Regions from separate parts of the Homo sapiens genome. Here regions 2 and 3 are each linked to region 1. Evidence: promoter capture Hi-C in 16 types of primary human blood cells and fetal thymus (Javierre and others, 2016). All regions are on one chromosome and are shown on one strand. The core of a region is centred on a gene start or on the middle of the fragment in contact, and the rest is flanking DNA. Distances in the headings are between cores, read along the strand shown. Region 1 holds the start of FSIP1 (fibrous sheath interacting protein 1). Region 2 overlaps BUB1B (BUB1 mitotic checkpoint serine/threonine kinase B). Region 3 overlaps BUB1B (BUB1 mitotic checkpoint serine/threonine kinase B).

The links. The method cuts DNA at HindIII sites, captures the fragments that hold promoters and counts their contacts. A CHiCAGO score of 5 or more calls a contact.
Region 2: a fragment that was not itself captured here is called in contact with the fragment with the promoter of FSIP1 in region 1 in 1 of 17 cell types (naive B cells); the score reaches 5.1 in naive B cells.
Region 3: a fragment that was not itself captured here is called in contact with the fragment with the promoter of FSIP1 in region 1 in 1 of 17 cell types (neutrophils); the score reaches 7.3 in neutrophils.

Annotation. Positions count from the first base shown.
Region 1 is chr15:39,781,059-39,785,372 of GRCh38, reverse strand. It overlaps FSIP1 (fibrous sheath interacting protein 1), which reads left to right and starts at 2,532. Exons shown (of 12, transcript NM_152597.5): 1 at 2,532-2,745. It overlaps LOC105370941 (a long non-coding RNA gene), which reads right to left and starts at 2,467. Exons shown (of 1, transcript NR_135665.1): 1 at 1-2,467. RefSeq lists an enhancer at 2,293-2,422 and a silencer at 2,723-2,902. The HindIII fragment of the contact is 7,042 bases long and covers 321-4,314 here.
Region 2 is chr15:40,182,026-40,186,339 of GRCh38, reverse strand. It overlaps BUB1B (BUB1 mitotic checkpoint serine/threonine kinase B), which reads right to left. Exons shown (of 23, transcript NM_001211.6): 6 at 2,457-2,626; 7 at 961-1,175; 8 at 698-789. The region is part of intron 1 of LOC107984763 (a long non-coding RNA gene); the gene reads left to right. Among named protein-coding and RNA genes, the nearest start is that of BUB1B, 23 kb to the right of the region's middle. The HindIII fragment of the contact is 361 bases long and covers 1,802-2,162 here.
Region 3 is chr15:40,161,451-40,165,764 of GRCh38, reverse strand. BUB1B (BUB1 mitotic checkpoint serine/threonine kinase B) reads right to left here. Exons shown (of 23, transcript NM_001211.6): 2 at 569-712. Among named protein-coding and RNA genes, the nearest start is that of BUB1B, 2.5 kb to the right of the region's middle. RefSeq lists enhancers at 3,541-4,305, 4,313-4,314. The HindIII fragment of the contact is 2,921 bases long and covers 867-3,787 here.

The DNA.
Region 1 (4,314 bases), core at 1,283-3,782:
AATGATCTCGTCTTGCCGCTAGGTAAACAGCGGTCGGTGGACGGGGAGCATTGGCATCATCTAGGAGCCTGTTAGTCTCAGGTCTCACCTGATACTGAATCAACATTTTTTTTTTTGAATCAGCATTTTTAACAAGATTCCTCGGTGATTTGTCTGCACATTAAAGTTGAGAAGGCCTAGATTCATTTGATCTCAGGTACACCCCTGGTTGTGTAGTTTATGAAGTCTCCCCAGGTGATTCTAATGCTCTGTGCAGTTAAGCACTGCAAAACTAGTCCAACTTCATTTTTCAAATGAAGAAACTGTGGCCCACAAAAGCTTATGTATTTACCTAAGATAACCTAGCTGTTTAATATCAAAATCCAAATAATGTCATCTCTCTTCTTCATAAAAAAATAAAGCAGGGTTGAGGGGACAGAGGGTAGGGAGTGTGGAGATGGGGATAATTATTTTATACAGGGTGGTTGGGAAAGGCCCTCCTGAGGAAGCGGACGCCTGAGGAAAGAGAGGAGCAAACCAGGTGGATAGCTGGGAAACTGTATTTCAGGCTGGTGTGTGTGTGTGTGTATTTGGACTGGAGGAACAACAAGTGTTTCCAAATTCCTGACAGATACTGATCTTTGGGATGCAGAAACAGGAAATCAGAATTACCAGCTGTTCTCAAAATCTTATTCTTAAAATATTCTCTACCTTCTTCATATTCTTTACTCATTATTACAAGTATCTGAAGCCTTTGTTTAAAAAATGAGAACTATTAAATTTAGAAGTGTTTACAAGAAGTGGGGTTTATAGCAAATATTCAAATGCTGGAAAACACAGAGAACATTATTGAGGAGTATTCAAATAATAGATCTCCTAGCAGGGTTAACTGTACTACCCAGAATCATGGGTTGGAAACTGTCAATTTAAGGATTTACTTTGAATCCAAAACCCGTTACTTTTTTGAACACTGCTCATAGAATTTGTATAAAGTATACAATGAGTATCAACCTATTTATATTTTATTTGCAAGAATGACTCACTGCCAGCGGCACACAGGGCCAGGAACATAGGCTTTCATGGCACCAACTACAAACAAGACTGACTGATGAGATTGTGGCCATGTCTCTCCCAAGTGCTCCTGACCTGGTTCCTGAAAATGTTCACCTCAACCTCGAACTCAGCATTTCCTGTGCTGGTTTTCAACTTGACATTGGTGAATTTCTTCAGTAACATCTCTAGGTCGGCTGCTAAGTTTTAATTCTCATAGGAGGATTAGGATACTTTCTCCCATTTTCTTCAGTTTGCAACTTTTTTTCTTTTGAGATTTGGAAAGCCACATAAATTCCCTGAGAAATGCTGGGAAGAAATCCCTGCACAGAAACACTAACAATGAGGACAGTGAGGCTGGAACCAGGTTTACCAGGGGAAAGCAGTAGGTAGGAGTGGAGGTCAGAGAGCCAACAGAAAGCCTTATCATTTAGAGATGATGTCAGTATGAACCTGAATGGAAGCACTGAAGTTGTGACGAATGTTTGGATTCTGAATATATTTTGAATGTTGAGCTGATAGGACAAATAGATTGTAGAGTGAGAGAGGAAGAAGAATTGAGGATGACTCCAAGGTTTTTGGTCTAGGCATGGCAGGCTGAAATTACCATTTGCTGAGATGGATAGAAAGTGGGTGGGGGACTCTGGAGAAGTTGTTTTTTCCCGTGTTAAGTTTGAGATGCTTACACATCTAAGTGGATATGCCAAATAGGCAGTTAGGTAAAGGAGTCTGGAGTTCAGGGAAGTCTGGGCTGGTGATAAGATGCAGGATTCAGGAGCATAGGGATGGCATTTATAGCCAGGTTTTTATACCCAGCACTCGCCTAGACTGCAGCTGTGTTCTTTCGGCAACTCAGCCTACGACTATTTGCTTCGCTGAAAAAAAACCACATCGTACCTAGTTAAAACAATGAGGACAAAGGGGCCATGAATGTGAAAATGCCCTGTAAACGGTAATGTGCTGTTCAGACTGGAAAGCAGGAGAAATGATGGCAATGGAGGTGAGGAAAATCAGTTTGTGGACGTAGGGAAATAATTTTCGTGCACTGAGAATTAGAGAAACTACGAAATGAAAGAAGGTGCAAAAAGCAATTATAACTCTTTTTGGACTGTAGCCGAATCTGTGCAAAACTCATATTTTTAAAATTTCCATAGCACCCCAAATTTACTAGAGCTTCACATACATGGTCTTTTTGAGCTGCACAAGTCTTGTAAGAAGGGAATTATTATTGTTCCCATTTTACGGAGGAGGAAACTGTGCTCGGAGAGGATAACTGACCTGTAAGGCATCACAGCAATATGAGGGACAGAGATACACAAGCATCCAGACGTCCGCGTTCCGAATCCAACCTAAAGACGAAAAATCGCTCCCAACCCCCACCGTCGGCAGCGAAGACGGAAGGACACACGCCGGCCGTCCCAGCTCGCAGGGCTCCAACAGCCGCCGGCCCCGGTCCCATTTCCGGATGGTACAGCCCTTTCCGCTATCGCGAGACCGGAAGCATCGCGCATCTGGTTGCCAGGGAAACAGCGGTCCCACAGGCAGGAGGGATCTGGACCGGCGGCTTCTTCCACTACCAGAGAGGCTGAGGTGGCGGGAGAGACCCCTCTCCTCTGGGGGTAAGTGGCTGGCGCGGCGAGTGTCTGCGGCGCGCTTCTGCGGCCATCTGCGCCCTGACTGACGGCGGCCAGTTCCTCGAGGAGGCCCGGCGGGAAGGTGAGGGGCCGCGCAGATGAGGGCGGAGCTCGGTCGCGGGGCGGTGCGCCGAGGAGTGGGCGGGGCGGAGCTGCGTCGGGCCGCTTGGCATGTAGATGGACTGTCAGGGAGAGCGGACAGGGCCAATGAGAGGGCGGGGGCGGGCTCATTGGGGGCGGGGCCCCAGCGGCTTCTGCCTCCGCGGAGGCTATTTCTCCAGGAATCACCTAACATTAGGACCTGTAACCAAGGCTTCTACTTTCCCGAGATTTGGATCTTCCCACCAAGATCTAGAACTGATCACCAGCCATTTAAACTAGACCGTAAACGGCAAAGGATGCAAATAGGCATTTCACAGGAAAAATAAAAAGATGCAAACAGCAAACAATTGATTAGAGACTCAACTTTTCTCGTGAAGAAATGTAAACCAAATTCACAGATACCTTTTACACCTATGAGACTGGAGAAGATGAAACAGCTTTGACATAACCAGATGGGCCCCAGCCCAGTGTAGGGGAAGTAGTGTAATTTGGTGCAGCCTTTTTGGAGTACAATTTGGCGAACTACCAAAATTTGAAACATAAGTGTTCTTTGACTCAGCAATTCTAATATATTTTATGGATGTATGAGCATAACTAAAGAAAGATTGGCACAAATATATTAACTTAAAATTGAGGTATAACTTACTTATGGTAAGCCTCACCCATTTAATCTACAGTTCTGTGAGTTTTGACAAATGTATACAGTTATGTAATTACCAACCACCACAATCAGCATACGGAAGTTTCATCATGAACCCCAAATTCCCTAGTGCTCTTTGTATTTAATCCCTCCCCTAACGCCATCCCTGGCAACAACTTCCTAGTTTTTTGTTCCTGTAATTTTGCCTATTCCAGAATGTCATATTGATGGAAGCAAACACCCTGTGGCCTTTTGAATCAGGCTTCTTTCAGCTTAGCATCATGCAGTTGCTATTCATTCATGTTCTGTGTATCAGTTGTTCCTTTATGTTGCTGAGTAATAGTCCATTGTATGGATCTACGGTAGTATATTTATCCATTTCCTACTTGAGGCATATTTGGATGAGTTCTTTCCAGTTGTTGGCTATTATTGATGAAGCTGGTATAAATATTCATGTACAGGTTTTTTTTTGTGTGTGTGAATATGTTTTCATTTCTTGGGTAAATATGAATGAGATTGTGGAGTCATATGGTAAATATATGTTTAACTTTATAAGAAACTGCTAAGCAGTTTTGAAAAGTGATGATTTTGCATTGTCATTGGCAATATGAGTGTTACAGTTGCTCTCCAACTTTGTCAGCACTTGGTATTGTCAGTTTTCTAAAAAATTAATTTTTGTCATTTGAATAGGTGTGTAGTGGTATCTCATTGTGATTTTTATTTTATTTTTTTGAGGGGTAATGATGTTGAACATCTTTTCATGTGCTCTTTTGCCATCCGTACATCATCTGGGGTGATGTGTGTGTCCAAATCCTTTGTTTTCTTGTTATTGAGTCTTGATACTTGTTTATATATTCTGGATATGAGTCCTTTGTCAGATATGTGTTTTGCAAATATTTGCTCCTAGTC
Region 2 (4,314 bases), core at 733-3,232, 400 kb before region 1:
CTAAGGATTAGGAAGAAAGAGGAAAAATATGTCCAGAAGGAAAAAGCAGGATAAGAGGGAAAACTATCATAATTTCTCATTACTATCAATGACAAAATGAGAACGTCTCATTTAAATCACATTATCTTTTCCCTACATCCCCATTATCCCATCAGACAAATCTTCTAACTCTACTGCTGAAGCCTCTCCCATCCAAGCTCCCTTCTCCTTTCATTACCACTACCCTGCCCAAATACCGCCCCTTAATATCCTTGCCTGAACTATTCCAATAGCTTATTTATGTATGTTCAATCCATCTTCCAGAATAGCCACCATTGATTTTCCTAAAGCAATGTTCAGTAATGAAAATATAAACCTAATTAATGTTTATTCCTTAATAAAATATTAACAAATGGTCTTTTAACCCTAACATACTCAAAGGAATACAAACATAAAGGATATACAAAATTTTGTCTGGTTACTTTTTTTTTTAATAAATAGAGACAGGGTCTCACTAGGCTGCCCAGGCTGGTCTTGAACACCTAGGCTCAAGGGATCCTCCTGCCTCAGCCTGTGCTGGGATTACAGGTGTGAGCTACTGCGCCTGGCCTGGTTACTTTCATCTTCATAAAGAAGAAACTGCCTTTGGGAAGTAGAATAGGTGCCTCTGCCCACCCTTAATAATTCCCACTTCAAAATATCCAAAAACCACACTCACATAACTGGCTGTCGTGCAGTCTCTTCCACATATGGAGTGAAACTGGGAAGCACAGCGGGTACAGCTATCAGTGAAGCTGTATTGCCACGAGGCTGGAGATGAAGAAGAAAACTAAAATTACCATAGTTTTATGTTCTCAGACAGCATATATAGACCATGGCTAAATATTCAAGAGGAATTAAAAGAGATGGTAAAAATACTTCTCTACCCTAAATGTGAAGTCTTTGTTGTGTCAGCAAAGCACTGGATCTAAGAGTCCTTACCCTGTGTTCCAAGGACCTGCCTGTGTTCCAAGGGCCTGCTTGCAGCTCATTCTCTTTGGCCCTGGGCATGGGGGGTGCTATCCATGGCTGGACTGTAGGCTTAGACAACTCTGCTGTAGAAGCCTCATCAGCATTTTCATCAAAAACAGTAATTCTACTATTATTTTGCATCTGTTGAGGAAATGGATTTTGGAGTCCTCTGTTCTGGCTTGGAGCTAGGAGCAAAAATATTAAAACCTCATGTAAAATGTTTCATTATTAACTTAGATGCCAGATAAAGTATACCTATTCTTCCTCAACTCAAGGACAGTATTTCCACTACAACAGAAAAAAAAAAAGAAATTTTAAAAATAATCTTTAAAAAAATTAATAAATCAAAAATAGAATCGTTTTATCCATTCTTTGTTACTTATATTCTGCCTTCTTTTCCCTCCTCCAGTCACCCCACATCTTTTATTCACAAATTTCCAAAAAAGACATTCTGCATCTTCCTTCAGTCATCATTATAACATTATCTAGTTTTATCAGAAACTAACCTAAGTTTTATTCTTCAGTTTTAAATTTTCTCTCAATGGAAATCAGCAGAGATATACTGGAACTAGAGAATACAAAATTAACCCATTTATTAGGGGTTTTCTCTGTTGTGGGGCTGGTTATTAACCAAGCTTCATCATGATCTGGATGAAATAGCCTTTGGGACCATACACTCCCTATATCCTAATTCTAGAACCACCAAGTAACATTCTGATTATTGATAAATTGATACCAGGAAAGAAATAAGAGATTAAAAAAACAGCCTGGTTTACATGTCTAACTGCTATAAATTTAGTAAATAAAAGCTTATTATTCTCTGTACCTTCTGCTCAATTTTGCTATGAACCTAAAACTACTCTAAAAAATAGTCAGTGTTGTCCAGATGCAGTGGCTCACACCTATAATCCTAGCTACTTGGGAGGCTGAGGCAAAAGAACTGCTTGAGCCTAGGAGTTTGAAGCTGCGGTGAGCTATGATTGCACTACCACGTTTCAGGCAACAGAGCGAGAACCTATCTCTCAAAAAAAAAAAAAGTCCATGTTAATTAAAAAAAATTATTGCTGATCTTTGGGTATATAGAGAGTCTAATTTCTGGTCCCAAAGGGCTCTGAAGGCAGGGTTCTTAACCATATTAGTATCATTCTCTGAGGCTTTGGTATATGTAAGCTTCACTTTAACAACACCTGCTATGTTACTACATATCTTCTTTCAACTAACAATTCAAACTCAGAAAATCTTGATGCTTCCTAAATGTTAGGTCTTTCTTAATTAAGACACAAAATTACTGATGCATTTTGATTTTACTGCACACTGTAATATTAGCTCTCCTTTGACTTCCTTCTTTTTGCTACTCAGTATTCAGCAAACTAGAAGTGTCCACAGGTATATTTATGTATTATCTTCTTACATGATTTTACCACTAGAAACTAACAGTTTTCCGAAATAACGTTTAACAAACTTACCCTTGAGAGCACCTCCTACACGGATGATTGGAGCTCTTGCTGTCTTTTTCCCTTTGCTCTTTAGTTCAGCTAGTGTGCTTCGTTGTGGTACAGAAGACTCAAAAACTTCCTCCTCTTCTTCTTTCTCAAGTGCCAACAGAGTTTGCCGAGACACTCGAGCTTGGAATTGTCTAAAGTAGCAGAATGCACAACTTTTAGTGAGGTGACCACTATTTTACCAGACTCAAAATTTCCAATTTGTTAAAGTAAACAAATTAGAAGAGCAGGCTGGGGGAAGAATGCAGAAATATCCCAAAGAACATGTTTATTCTCTCAGAAGTAAAGAGAGTCACCTTAAGATCATGAAAAGTTTTGGCTAGAATTATTTAACTCTCCCTTTAAATGCCCAAGTTTGACCAATTTAAATTATTCTGAAAATCACCATTAAGTTGATCTGAGGATCAGGTTAGGGTTATTAAGACTAAGATCACAGAGTTTATTAAGATTAGAGTTTTCCCACTAACTTTTTATTAGAAAACTTGACCCACCAATTGTTAACACTGTGCCACATCTATTTTATCACTGTGTCTCTTTTTCTATACACATGCATGCGCGCACGTGCACGCACACACATATACGGTTTCTCCTGACCTATATGAAATGAAGTTGCATATGACATGACATTGTACTTTAGCAAAGCTGGCAGAAGTTTGAAAAGTAAACTTCCTATGCTGCTGCCACAGTTTTAAGTATTATCAGAAGAGATTCTCCATTCCTACCACTGCTTCATTTAACTAGCCTTAAAAAGTATTATCATAAGGGTAAAAAAAACCCCAAAAAACCCAGAATAAATTGCAGGTGTTGGCCAAGATGGAGTATGCCCACTGTACCTTTTCTCTTTCTCTCACTGATAGGAATTAAAAACTATAGACCATATACAAAAAAAGCAACTAACTGAGGGCTCTGAAAAGTCAACAAAAGCAAGCAGACTGTGGAGAGGGGTCAAAACTTGAAGAAACAACCCACGCAGGATTGTTTCCTGTTTTTTTATTCTTCTATTTTCTCTTGTGGTTTTGAACTGTTGCAGTGGTGGTATGTGAATGTAAAACTCAGAGAAACCCCATCTTTCTGGCCTGAGGACTGGGAAAAGAGGACTCTGAAGGCCAAAGAATATGGGAGGAGAACTGCAAAGGAATGAGCTGAACAAGAGGATCTCCTAATTCTGTATGTGAATTGGCATACATCTTAGGTTCCCTCTTGAGCTATGCATGCACAGGGTAGATTCAAAGCAGCACAGAAAAGGCTTTGAGAACTGAACAATGATATAAACCACTGCCCAAGCCCCAGATTAACCCTTAAGCAGGACATGCATGGGACAGACCCAAAGCAACACAGCAAAGGTCTTGAAAACTGAACTGACAGTGGAACCAACAGCCACACAAGATGACAAAGAACTTGTAATATCTGAAGTGTGGTTGTCTACTAAGACAAAAACATAGATATTCTCCAGGGAATATTGGCCAACAGGATCAGAGTCTTATAACATATGGTCAGGATAAATGTCCAGGGTACAAGAATTACTTGACACACAAAGAACTAGAAAAATGTGACCAACTTTCAAAGGAAAAAACAATAAGCAAATGCAAACATAAAATGACCCAGATGGTATAGTTTTCAGATGGAGATTTTATTTTGTTTTTTGAGATGGAGTCTCATTCTGTCACCCAAGCTGGAGTACAGTGGCACAATCTCGGCTCACTACAACCTCTGCCTCCTGGGTTCAAGCGATTCTCCTGCTTCAGCCTCCCGAGTAGCTGAGATTGCAGGCACCCACAACCATGCACAGCTAATTTTTGCATTTTTAGTAGAGACAGAGTTT
Region 3 (4,314 bases), core at 1,078-3,577, 380 kb before region 1:
GATTGAAGGTAGAAACTGATACTCTGATTTACCTTTTTTTTTAAAAAGCATATTTATCAAAACATGTATTAGTTAAAGGAGATCCACAGGTCCATTTGAATAACATAAGAGTATTTTTCAGCTTTTATTTATCCAGAGTTTGTTAAAATTATTGAGAACTTTCTGGTATAAATTCAATTGTTCTGAGGTTTACATGTCTTTGGAGACCACTTCTTTTTTTGTCATACTCTCAAAAATAAGTTCCTAACATAATACTTTTGGGAAGCATTGCAATATAATACTTGCTTTACTATGCTTATCACTGCCCCCTGTATAAAATGTATTTCTATTGATAAAAAGAGTTTCGCTGCACCACAGTGAAATGAAATCCTATAGCCCTTGTTCTTAATTATACCTGAGGACATCTTCAGATAGCTGTCATGTGATACGAAAGCAGGTAGAGAACAGATTCTCATACTACCAATTTTTGAAAAGTACTCATTATGCCATCTCTCATGGATCCACACCCACGTTATCTACAACATTTAGGATGAATGACGACAGGTTGAGACTCAGCCATTCTACACACCGTTTCTGCTGCTGAAGAGTATTGTTACAGGCAGATTCTTGTGCCAGTGCTCCCTGAAGCGTGGACATGATCCGCCCTTGCCTTAAAGGTTGTACATTTTCTTTACTCAGTTCCCATTCATCTCCCTCCAGGGACATGGCTTCACTGTGAAGAAGGAAACAAATGTAAATCTCATACCAACATTGACTATTATAGCACTAGATTATTGTAAATGTCTTCCGAAAGGTGATTATTCATGGTCTTGGGTTGAATATAGTGGACTGACACATAATTATTATTATTATTATATGCCTAAGCTTCTTTGTTAGCTGTTTTTCAAGTTTATGGCTACAGTATTGCCTGATAGAAGACAACTTGGCAAGGATATCGTAGACAGTACTATAAGAATAGGGCATGGCTATGTGCGGTGGCTCACACCTGTAATCCCACCACTTTGTGAGGCCGAAGTGGGAGGATTTCTTGAGCCAGGAGTTTGATACCAGCCTGGGCAACATAGCAAGACCCTGCCTCTTTCTTTAAAAAAAAAAAAAAAAAGAAAAATGAATAGGGCTTAAGGCAGAAAGAAAAGAAGGGAACAAAAGTGTTATAAATTTGGCAAAGTAGACAAAAAGGCAACAAGTAATTCTATGCCTACCATTGAATGCATCATCTAGTTTAATTTAAAATTAGTGCCGGATGTGGTAGCTCATGCCTGTAATCCTACCACTTTGGGAGGCTGAGTCAGGAGAAGTGCTTGAGCCCAGGAGTTCAACACCACCCTGGGCAACATAGGAAGACCCCCATCTCTACAAAAAGTGAAAAATTAGCCAGGCGTGGTGGTACACGCCCATGGTCGTGGCTACTTAGAAGACTGAGGTGGGAGCATTGCTTGGGTTCAGGGGTCGAAGCTGCAGTGAGCCATGATCACACCACTGCACTGCAGCCTGGGCAACAGAGCAAGACCCTGTCTCAAAAAAAAAACATTAAAATTAGCAAAGTGTGGGTGAGACTAATGTCCCATGTTTCAATGATGATTCAAAACTGAAGTTTGTACATATAAGTAGCTAAAAGCAGAAGCAAACAAACACAGTTTACTAGTCACAATTCCCTGCATCCTCACACCCAATTCTAGCAAGCCTACTGAGAAAACCCCCGAAACGTTTTGGAGGTAATTCCCATTACGTATTCTGCAATTCAGAGCCCTGCAATGGTTAGATAGAAGACTATTTCTAAGAGACATTACCTCTGGACTTAAAACAAAAAGAGAGACACATTGGCACTAATCTTTGAAATAGAGTGAAAGTTATATGTGACTTCAGTCTAGATGAGCACTGAAAACTCGTTGGAGACAGCTTCTTGGAAACTATGACTTTAATCAAAATGACATGTAACAAAACCAATTTTACCACAGGCTGATCGACATAAACAAAAGTTAAGTTCCTATGGCATATTTCTGGTCACAAAAACGTCACCAAACTTCTGAATAAAGACTCGAAACAAACATTTTTAATACTAAATATTGAAATAAATGTGAGCTATCCGTACACTTAAGAACATTTAATGAAAACAAAAAATAATCATTTACCCAATTTTTGGCGAATCAGTGAATGACTGCAGTCATAGTGTTGGTGGGTTAACTCAAGGAATAAATGTTTGAGAGTGAAAATTTCAAGAAGTACCTCCTACCACCACAAAGTTCAAAAAACAAATAGTAACACTATAGTGGGCATGCTGGGCACTTTCATAAGGCATTGTTTATTGTCATGCATTTATATGATTATCATACACACTTTATATAAACTTTTTAAATAGAGACAGGCCTTACTATGTTGCCCAGGCTGGTCTTGAACCGCTGAGCTTAAGCAATCCTGTTGCCTCAGCCTCCCGAAGTGCTGGGATTACAGGTGTGAGCCACCGCTCCCAGCCTTTACAGATTTTTATTTTACAGTAATTTGTATTCATTCCTTCATTCATTTTCCAACTCACTTATTCTAGTTCGGGGTTGAGGGTGGCCAGAGCCCATCTCAGCAACTCAGAGAGGAACCAACCCTGGACAGGACACCACTCCATCACAGGGAGCATCACATTCACACCCATTCAGACTGGGATCATTTAGACACGCCAATTAACAGGCACATCTTTGGGATGTAGAAGGAAACTGGAGTACCTAAGGAAACCCATGCAGACATGCGGAAAACATGAAAACTCCACATACACAGCAGCCCCGCAATGAATTGATTTTTTTTCTCATCAACATTATAACGAAACGATGTTATACCAGGACCTGCTCTATATTGTGTGAACTCTGTAAAGGTAAGGGCTATGCCATTTATTTTTGTATGCCCATGATCTAATACGAGATATAACACTATTATGCCCTGTTTGTTGAATTCATCTGAACTTTCTTCTCTTGCTCTTAAAAATAGTGAATTACACTATCTCAGTTAAATATCCCAAATTGAGCTAAGACTGCCCCCACTTCCTCCCAGACCTGCTCCTCCCACAGTCTTCCTCTTTCTCAAATAAATGGCAATCCCATTCTTCAGTTACCCAAGCCAAAAATCTTAGTGCCAACTTTGATGCCCTTCTCATACCCCTCAGTCAGTCAGCAAGTCCTACTGGTTCTACCTTCAAAATATATACAGAAATCAACCACTTATCATCATCTCCACTGTTTTCCACCTGGCTCAACTCACTTTTGAGCTGAATTATTTCAATAACCTCTTAACTGGTGTCCCTTGCTTCCATCCTTTGCTGCCTTTAGTGTATTCAACACTACAGCCAAAGTGACCCCATTTAAACCCAAGTCAGATTATGTCTTTCCTTTGCTCAAAACCTTCCAATGACTTTTGATTACAACTAGAGTAAAAGCTAAGTCCTTACAATCTGCATCTTCACCATTTTTACATAATATCCTTTTACTCTTCTAGTTAATTCTGCTCCAGTGACAATGGCCTTGGACATGCCAGGTGCAACTTCCTCCCCTAGCTCTCACCCTCAGCCTTTGTACTCTCCTCAGATATAGAACCTCTAGCTTTTGAGATTCCTTCAAGTCTTGACCAAAGTGACATCTCCTCAGTGAGACTCCAGTGTTCAAGTTAAATTGCACCAATCCCCACCCCCAATATTCACTACACCCAGTTGCTTTATTATTTTTTTTAGTACTGACCACATCTCCACCTAACAGTTTGTCTTTATTGTCTGACTCCCCCACCTTCATCCCATGCCAGAACTTAAGCTTCATGAGGGTTGAGATTTTTGTGTCTGTATATTTGCTGCACTCAGAGCTTAGCCAAAAAAATACTTGTTACATGAATGAAAGAGCCCATGACATAGCACTTATCTAGGTATTGCGGGCACCACAGTGAAAACACATACAGATTTCCAACCTAGAACTGCAATATAGTTTTTTTAATACAAGGAAAAGCCGCAAACATGCAGAAAAAGGCTTTTAGATCTCTATGTTATTGGCATAATTTAGATCTCTATGATATTGGCTAAAGGCTTTCAGATCTCTGTGCTATTGGCATAGCACCTGCCATTTGTTGAGCGCTTATTTGGAAGCAGTTACTTAACAAATACTTTGAATTCCCCCAGAACCACGTAAGGCAGCATTAACATCAGCATTTTCCATACAAACGATTTGCCCAAGGTCAAACAACTAGCAGGTGGCTGAGCTGAGTTACAAACAGACAACATTGCAACTTCCAAACTCTTTGTTCCGCTGGGGTCCCGCAGCCTTCTTCGCTTTGAAGCTGGATGCGGCA